3 separate regions of the Homo sapiens genome follow, and all the other regions are linked to region 2. The links are contacts of gene promoters, found by promoter capture Hi-C in blood cells and fetal thymus (Javierre and others, 2016). All regions are on one chromosome and are shown on one strand. The core of a region is centred on a gene start or on the middle of the fragment in contact, and the rest is flanking DNA. Distances in the headings are between cores, read along the strand shown.

Region 1 (2,700 bases), core at 103-2,602, 300 kb before region 2:
GTCCGCAGCTTCATTCTTGAAGTCAGCGAGACCACGAACCCACTGGTAGGAACCAACTCTGAACACACTGGCATCTGAATGTTTGTGTTCCCCAAAAATTCATATGTTGAAATTCTAACCCCCAAGGTGATGGTATTGGGAGAGAGGTTTTCAGGGGTGATTAGGTTATGAGAATAAAGCCCTCATGAATGGGGTTAGTACCTTAGGAAAGGGGCCTAGACCCCTCACTCCTTCTGCCGTGTGAGGACACAGCAGGAAGGTGCCATCTATGAACCAGAAATTGGGCCTCCACCAGACACCAAGTCTGTCAGCACCTTGATCTTGGACTTCCTAGACTCCAGAACCATAAGAAACAAATGTCTGGTGTTGAATTAAGCCACCCAGTTTATGGTATTTTGTGATAGCAGCCCCAACAGACTAAGACAGCGACCTAAAGCAGAGAACCACCCAGGACCTTCTCAGCATGTCAGAGTCTTAGACACACTCTAGTCCAAGCCCTCAGCACACAGTTTTATAGGCAAAGAGGCTGAATCTCAGGTGATTCAAGTTCATGGTAGAACCAGGAGTCCGATCCAGTTTCCCTGACTCTGCTTTCTGAGTGCTTCTCTTTATTTTCTTGTGGTCCTCTATTGTCATACAGCAAAGAATAGCGGAAAGGATTTGGATTTAGATCAGAAAACCTGGATTTTAGTTCCAACTCCATCACTTGTTAACCGTGTGACCTTGAGCCCATAAATCTCTTAACATCTCTGTTCGTCACTTGTATCAAACATAAAACGGGATTAATAATATCAGGGATCAATGGCTTAATCTATTTAATGGCACTTTTTTAGACTGTGGCATTATATGTATTTTCTAATAATTATTTTTTCTCCTTAAGTATCCATGGCATTTATTCAAGAAATGTGTATTGCTGTGGAGAGAAAGGGGTATGAGTGGATTACCAAGTCTCACCCTCCTAAGAGTATCCAGTGTCATGATGCTTCCAGGAAGAGATGCTTCCAGGGAGAGGATGCTTCTTTTCCTTTCACCCCAGTACCTGCTTCTAACCTCAGTACCCTCACAGTGGCCTACAGAAGTCACTCAATTTAAAGCGAATTCAATAGCATGACAGATTTTACCTCCAAACCACCATGTATGGCTCCCAAAAACAGCCTGCAGAACAGCGTTTCTCTTCTCTCCCATCTTGGGTTACATTGGTAGCTAAATCGGCCTGTGGGTACACATGAGGCCCTAAGACCACAGATGCCCCAGTTAGGACATTGTTCAATCTCTCCCTGCTCATATGGAAATTCAATACCCACTCCTTACCATCAACACTCTTCTCCAGTTGTTTCTCAAGAGTGCCAAGGTGGGGTCTCACACGACCTGGCTGGGGTTTTAGGAGCCCAATAAATGGTTTCCCTCTTCCCTGTCCAATTTCAGAATCAATTGAGAGGTATACCCAGGAGCCAGACTGATGGAGATCAAAATGATAGTCTTATGAGACAAAAGCTAAATTGGATGATACCCTTCCAACTGCAGGCACAATGGGTTCGTTTGTCATTTTGCCCCCAAGACCGAGTTTGCCTACCTAGGCTAAGCCAAAAGACTGCAGGCATCCCCCTAGCAGGGAGAACTGAGACCATGTGTTCCTGAGACAAGCTGGCTCCGAAAGAGGAGAGAGGAGGAAGCTGAGCCAAGCATGCCAGTTTCTTCTCCTAAACTTGCCAGTTAGAGAACCTACCTCTGCCGTTCCTACTGGAAATGCCTCCAGACAGAGACAGGAGGGAATAAGGGGTCAGGGGGCTGGGGAATCCTACATTTCCAGAACATGTTTGTTCATATTCTGTGCTTTCTGGCTTCCTCATTTGGGGCCCCCCCTCATGCCTGCAGGGACCATCAGGTTCCATGCCAATGTGGAGAAAATGCCCTCTTCATCTCTGTGCTGGCCCCCAAAGGGAAGACATGCCTGTGTTCAGAATTTCCTGAAGTTTCACAGGAAACAGCTTCTTTTTCTTGATTTTTTACCGCAACTCCCCTTTGGCTCCAGCCTTCCCAGACAAAGCCTATCAACCCATGCAAATAGATTCTTGAGGAGAAGGAATTTTACGCTTGTGCCTTGGAGCTTCTACTTGTTCTGAAGACCCTACTCTACAATCATCCTTGCACTTAGTGTCATGGTCCTGGTCTTCCCTTTGCTGCTCTCAAATTATTTTTAGGGATTTTTAAAAAATGTGATCATGAATCTCCAATGACTTAGCTTTTTCCACCCTTAAGGAGTTGGTCTTGAAAGGCCCGACCACCTCTTCCCCATCTTTGCCATCAATGCACAGCGTGACATCCTGCCCTTCACAGTATTTCCTGAGCTTCCTGTAACTGTCTGATGCTGCCCGATTTAAAAAAAAAAAAGACTGCAGTTTCCTACAAAGCCTTGTCCAACACCTTCTAGGATCAAAACAAAAGATAAAATACTTGATTTTCTTGATCTACACGTTTAAAATCCAAAACAGTTGTTTGCACAGGAACTCTGGGCATCATTGAAAGGGAAAGGGCCAAAGACCATTTGTACCTTTCTGAGCATGTCAGATTTATAGCATGTACGAAGTGATTTTGACCGGCAGCTGGTTGGTACACATTCTCATTTGTATTCATCCTGAAAACTATGGCAATGTCTCACCGTTTCAGGAGTTGTGACACTTTACCACTACATATTTACCC
Region 2 (2,700 bases), core at 46-2,545:
GGTTCTCCATTTTCTCAATACTCATACTTTAATAAATTTAACTCTGACTTTTGCCTATAATACACAGGCTAAGAATAAACTCCCCAAGTATTTCCCTGGAGGTCTGTAGTTTCCCCATCAGAAGTAAAGTCTCCTAAAAGCCCTGTTTAAAATGCAAAGTATTTTGAGAGTTAACACTTCAGGCCACTAGTATGTATTAATGTCCTATGGTTAAGGTTGAGCAAAATGCACATTAATTTAGAATACAGAGATAATTAAAGTAAGGCTGGAATGTGCATAAATAGATGTAATCATAATTATTAGAGGCATAGACATCATGTCCACAGTTACAGACCTCAAGGTACAAATAGAGGAAAGAGAATGGATCAGCTGCATATTCAGTACTCCCTGGCTATCTGTGGGGGACTAGTTCCATGACACCCGCAGATACCAAAATCTGTGGATGCTCAAGCCTCTGATATGAAATGCTGTAGTATTTGCATATAATTTGTGCACATCCTTCAGGATGTTTTAAATCATCTCTAGATAACTAGTAATACCTAATACAGTATAAATGCCATGTAAATAGTTGTATTTTGTGTTATTTTTATTGTTGTATTGTTATTTCTAATTTTGTTCTGAATATTTACAATCTGGAGTTGCTTGAATCCACAGATGAAGAACCCGAGATTTGGAGGGCCAACTGTATTTGATTCTTAAACTGCTTGTCAGATATTTCTCTAATTTCAATTTGATTAATAAGCTTTGTTTTGGGGAGTGATCAATACAGCCTATTCATTTTGAGCACAGGCTTTGGAGTCACAAGTTCCCTTTGGAGGACCTGGTCGCTGACACTACGGTTGTACGCTGACTTTTGTCAAATGACTTAACCTCCTTGAGCTTTGGTTTCCTAAACTGTGAGATGGATATACTAATAGTATCCTAAGTTGTAAAGTAGTTATGATGATTAAATGAGATAAATGAAAGTACATGTTTCAAATGCTTAATGCCTGACACACGTTAATGGTCATGGTCGTCATCATTATCGTTATTAAGTGGCCAACATGGATAAAGAGTATAGTCTGGATTTGTGACCTTAAATTTTTGGCTCTAATATTCGCCAGCGCTCTGCTCAGAACATTCTCTGTTCGCATTTCATACAGCGGTGCCAGCGCACAACCAGGCAACGCCCTCAGGAGCATCATTGTTTTCTGGACCTGGTTCTTTCTCGCTCTGCCCTCCAGGGGCCGCTGTGTTTCTCGGAATGCGCGCGGGATGCCCGGTTGCCACGAGACCGTCGCCAGGCAACCGCGTGTACACATACTCCAGGCGGGCCGGGGCGCGTCAATATGGCGGCGCAGGGCTCCCCCTCGAGCTCTCCGTCAGACGACTCTACCACCTCGGGGTCTCTGCCAGAACTGCCGCCGACCTCCACCGCGACTTCGAGGTCGCCCCCAGAGTCGAAGGGGAGCTCCCGGAGCTCGCTGCTTCAGTGGACCTGCCCCGAGGACTCATTGCCCCTAGCCGTGTTTTATGGGCCGCTGGACGCGAAAAACCCGCTCCTGGCCTCTTGTGAGAAGGAGATCCAGGAGTTGTTAGGCTTTATGAGGAAAAAGAAGGCTTTAGCCACCACGGAGGAAGAGAAGCACGAATTCCGCCGGCGTTGGTAAGCGCTGGCGGGGCACTGGGGAGGGCGCCGGCCAGAGGAGGGACCCCTGGAAAGGGCTGGAGGATGCAGGTGGTGGCCCCAGAGATGGTTCAGCGTTGCGGACGCAGGGGCTGGCTGAAGGGCCCAGGAGAGACAAAGTTTAAGAAGTGGAGACTCGTCGCTCTTAACAATCCTTAATTCCTGGGAGCTGTTATATCTTGGCTTCCTGCTCAGGTCAAAATAAAAATCTACACAGAAATGTTTCATAACTCACCATTTGTTATTTGACCAGAAAAGAAAGATGGTAACATAAGCAGGAAAGAACCTTAAAAAGAGTTCGCAGTTTGCAGTAATAACATGGTGATAGAACTCCCAAAAAGGCAAACAGTTGCGCAGAATGAATAGCAAAATTAAGAAAAAGTCACTGTAATCCTAATAGCAATATAAGAAGGAATTAAAGTGCACATGTTCACAGGATGACATACTTCATTGTATCAAGAGCTAGCTTCATGAACCTGAGCTACCTCGAAGTTATTCCTTTTTCTCCATATACAAATTTATATACTCATAACATGGAAAGTTGTGAAACCCTTGAGCGAGCCAAAAATTTATACATGAATACAAAATACGAAAATTAGCTGGGCATGGTGGCACATGCCTGTACTCCCAGCTACTCAGGAGGCTGAGGCAGGAGAATTGCTTGAACCCGGGAGGCAGAGGTTGCAGTGAGCTGGGATCGCGCCACTACACTCCAGCCTGGGCGACAGAGCAAGACTCCTTCTCAAAAAATAATAATAATAAATAAATAAAATAAAATATTTTTTATTTATGCATATAACAACTATTTATTGAGCACATACTGTATATCAAGTGCTGTTCAAGGAACTAGGAAAACATCAAGTTAACAAAACATATAAGAATCCATGTCCTTATAGAGCATATGTTTTTGTGGGTATAAACAACCACTAAACAAATATGTAAGTAAATAATCTTACAAGGAGATGACTGCTAGGGAGAAAAATAGAACAGGGAATGGTGTTGGAGGATATGAGATGAATGTTGCAATTTTATCT
Region 3 (2,700 bases), core at 4-2,503, 320 kb before region 2:
CTAGGTCAACCACAAGCCCACTATGAGTCTTGAGAAATGGACTTAGCTTCTGTCTGGATCCTGTATTACCCTGCCTGAAACATATGCTCTAAGGCAGCTGTGAAAGGGAACTGTTTTGATTTATGTGAGACCCTGAGCGAAGGATTTCAGTTCTCTGAGTGTCCACGCCATTGATGGTACATGCAAACTACACACACTACACACAAACACACACCACATTCACACACACTACACACACACACACACACACCACATTCACACACACTACACACACACACCGCATTCACACACACCACACACACACACCACATTCACACACACACCACATTCACACACACTACACACACACACACCACATTCACACACACTACACACACACCACATTCACACACACTACACACACCGCATTCACACACACTACACACACACACCACATTCACACACACTACACACACACACCACATTCACACACACTACACACACACAGCACATCCACACACACTACACACATGCACCGCATTCACACACACTAAACACACACACACCACATTCACACACACACACACCACATTCACACACACTACACACACACACACACACCACATTCACACAAACTTGTTGGAGTCAGTCAAGCCCCACAGCCCTAAAAGGCACTTCACAAAAGGGTGAATGAGAAGAGAAAGCAAACCTGAGATTCTGTGGGGCAATTGACACCAATCCCCCGTCCCAAACATCCCCATTTAAATGTGATTAATTTGCAATTCTGAAAGATGTCATTTGTGTCAATCCAGGAACGCATTCATTTTGGGGTGAGCGGAAATGTCCCCAATTTCTGGTGGTAGCGGATACATCTGAAAAATGGAATCGAATCAATTTTGCTCCCGAGAGGGACAGGTGGAGGACTCCTATTTCCTGCCAATTCAGTTGGAAACAATGAGGAGAGAGGAAAAAAAATGGAGCCCTCCCTTCTCTTTCTGGCCTTAGACATGAACTCCTGATAAGATCCTGGAAAACAGGCAGCGTTTTTAACAGCCGGTTGCCCTCTTCAGCTGAGAAAACAGCACGAGCCAAAACTAGGAACCGGGGCCACCTCTATTGTGAATGTGGCCAGGCTGACTTATTGTCGCCAAACAGCAAATCATGAAATGACTGAGATAAGGAATATAATCACATTTTCACATGAACCTTACATTCTTACCTCTTCTATAGGAAAGGATATCCCTGCAGGAAGGAGGAAGGTGGGGCCTGCCCATGTTCTGCAGCAGGGCTGGGACTGCATTGTCCAGGCTTTTGTAGGGACACAGGAAGAGGGTACGGAAGTTTCTACAGGAAAACAGAGAAAAGTTCAAACATAAACAGCATCCAAAAAAATTTACCAACAGCAAACTAGATTTCCTCTTTGGGCCTCCCATGCTTCCATGCACCCCTGGACTGGCAGATTTTAATCTTGGATTCTGTTCACCTTGGTAACCTCCAGCGCGTGTGATTATGCTGTTTCCCTACTTATTAAGTTAAAAGGATGTGTTTTCTATGGCAATGGAGACAAAAACAATCTCTTTCCAGAGACTGTATCCTGGCCTGGCCGGAGACTGTTCTGTCTTTTCCATTTGTCATTTCTGGGGAGGGCATGAGCTTTCCTGAAGTTCCGTGTGTGATAGGGCGGCTCCCTTTCAGGAGCATTTGAACAAAAGCTGAAAGTGGCTACATCATTGCTTCCCACGAGGCAGGGGTTTGGTTCGGCTCCCTGGTTTCAGCCAGAGATGAGCTTTGAGAAACTCAACCATAAGGGACACAAGAAATGTATCCTCACTCCACCCCCAAGTAACTAGTGAGGGCTGGAGTTGTCCCTTTCCACCCCGCTTGCCGTCTGTCCTCCCACCCCCCAGGGCTCAGAAGAAGCTGCCACAGGAATCTCGGCTGCCCACCCTGAGGCCGCACAGCTCTGGTTTTAGGGTTATGAAAACCACGGCTCTAACAGGGAGAATTCCATCACTAAATCTGAAAGAAGAGGGCCTAGATGAAACCAGGGAGCAGCTTTGGGGACTCACGCCACCTTATGCCTCGGCCTTGTGTTTTAAACCAAGTCGTTCCTTTCTGCCTCTGGTTACATAGATAGGTGACAAAAAAAAAATTATAGAAAAATGTTATCAGATTCCCTGGTTTTGGGAAGAGGGGCGTGAGGGAAAAGGCCTTCTCAAGGGCAAACTTTGAAATGTAAGAAGTTTCTCTCCACTCTTCTTCCTGACTGAAAGGCTTCACATTGGCTAGGGATCACAGAAGTCACTTCCACACTCGCTGTAATGGGGACTGCCAGGCACTAAAAGGAGCATCCGTCACCTCTCAGATGGGGCCAATCACACATTTCAGGAGCAAACAGTTACAGTTAGTAGACAGATTTCCTAGACACTTGCCCTTATGGGAAATTAAAGTACCCCCTACCCCCCTCAAAATAGCTCATAAGTCTAAGGATCTTCCCCAGCCCATCAGAGGATGGAGTTCTGAGTGGACTGTGCTAGATTTTTAGGGGATATCTTTTTCTGAATTGCTTTTTCCAGAACGAATGACTTCCATTATGTTCAGCCAGGGACCAATTTTTCACTTAAGTATGTAAAGCAAAATATGACTTTTTCCCTGGATATGTTACAACAGAAAGCTTTCCTGACAGCTGCCAGGCAGGTGATTAAAGCGTATTATATAAAA

Evidence for each region. The method cuts DNA at HindIII sites, captures the fragments that hold promoters and counts their contacts. A CHiCAGO score of 5 or more calls a contact.
Region 1: a fragment that was not itself captured here is called in contact with the fragment with the promoter of CFAP54 in region 2 in 1 of 17 cell types (naive CD4 T cells); the score reaches 5.9 in naive CD4 T cells.
Region 3: a contact is called between a fragment that was not itself captured here and the fragment with the promoter of CFAP54 in region 2, in 1 of 17 cell types (M2 macrophages). The highest score is 5.0, in M2 macrophages.

The regions. Positions count from the first base shown.
Region 1 is chr12:96,184,475-96,187,174 of GRCh38, forward strand. No RefSeq gene overlaps it. Among named protein-coding and RNA genes, the nearest start is that of ELK3, 8.6 kb to the right of the region's middle. The HindIII fragment of the contact is 2,888 bases long and covers 1-2,700 here.
Region 2 is chr12:96,488,282-96,490,981 of GRCh38, forward strand. It overlaps CFAP54 (cilia and flagella associated protein 54), which reads left to right and starts at 1,296. Exons shown (of 68, transcript NM_001306084.2): 1 at 1,296-1,645. The coding sequence starts at 1,329. RefSeq lists a silencer at 1,150-1,444 and an enhancer at 1,335-1,544. The HindIII fragment of the contact is 3,410 bases long and covers 741-2,700 here.
Region 3 is chr12:96,164,109-96,166,808 of GRCh38, forward strand. LINC02452 (long intergenic non-protein coding RNA 2452) reads right to left here. Exons shown (of 3, transcript XR_945239.3): 2 at 1,199-1,323. Among named protein-coding and RNA genes, the nearest start is that of LINC02452, 7.0 kb to the right of the region's middle. RefSeq lists a silencer at 2,183-2,477. The HindIII fragment of the contact is 2,795 bases long and covers 1-2,651 here.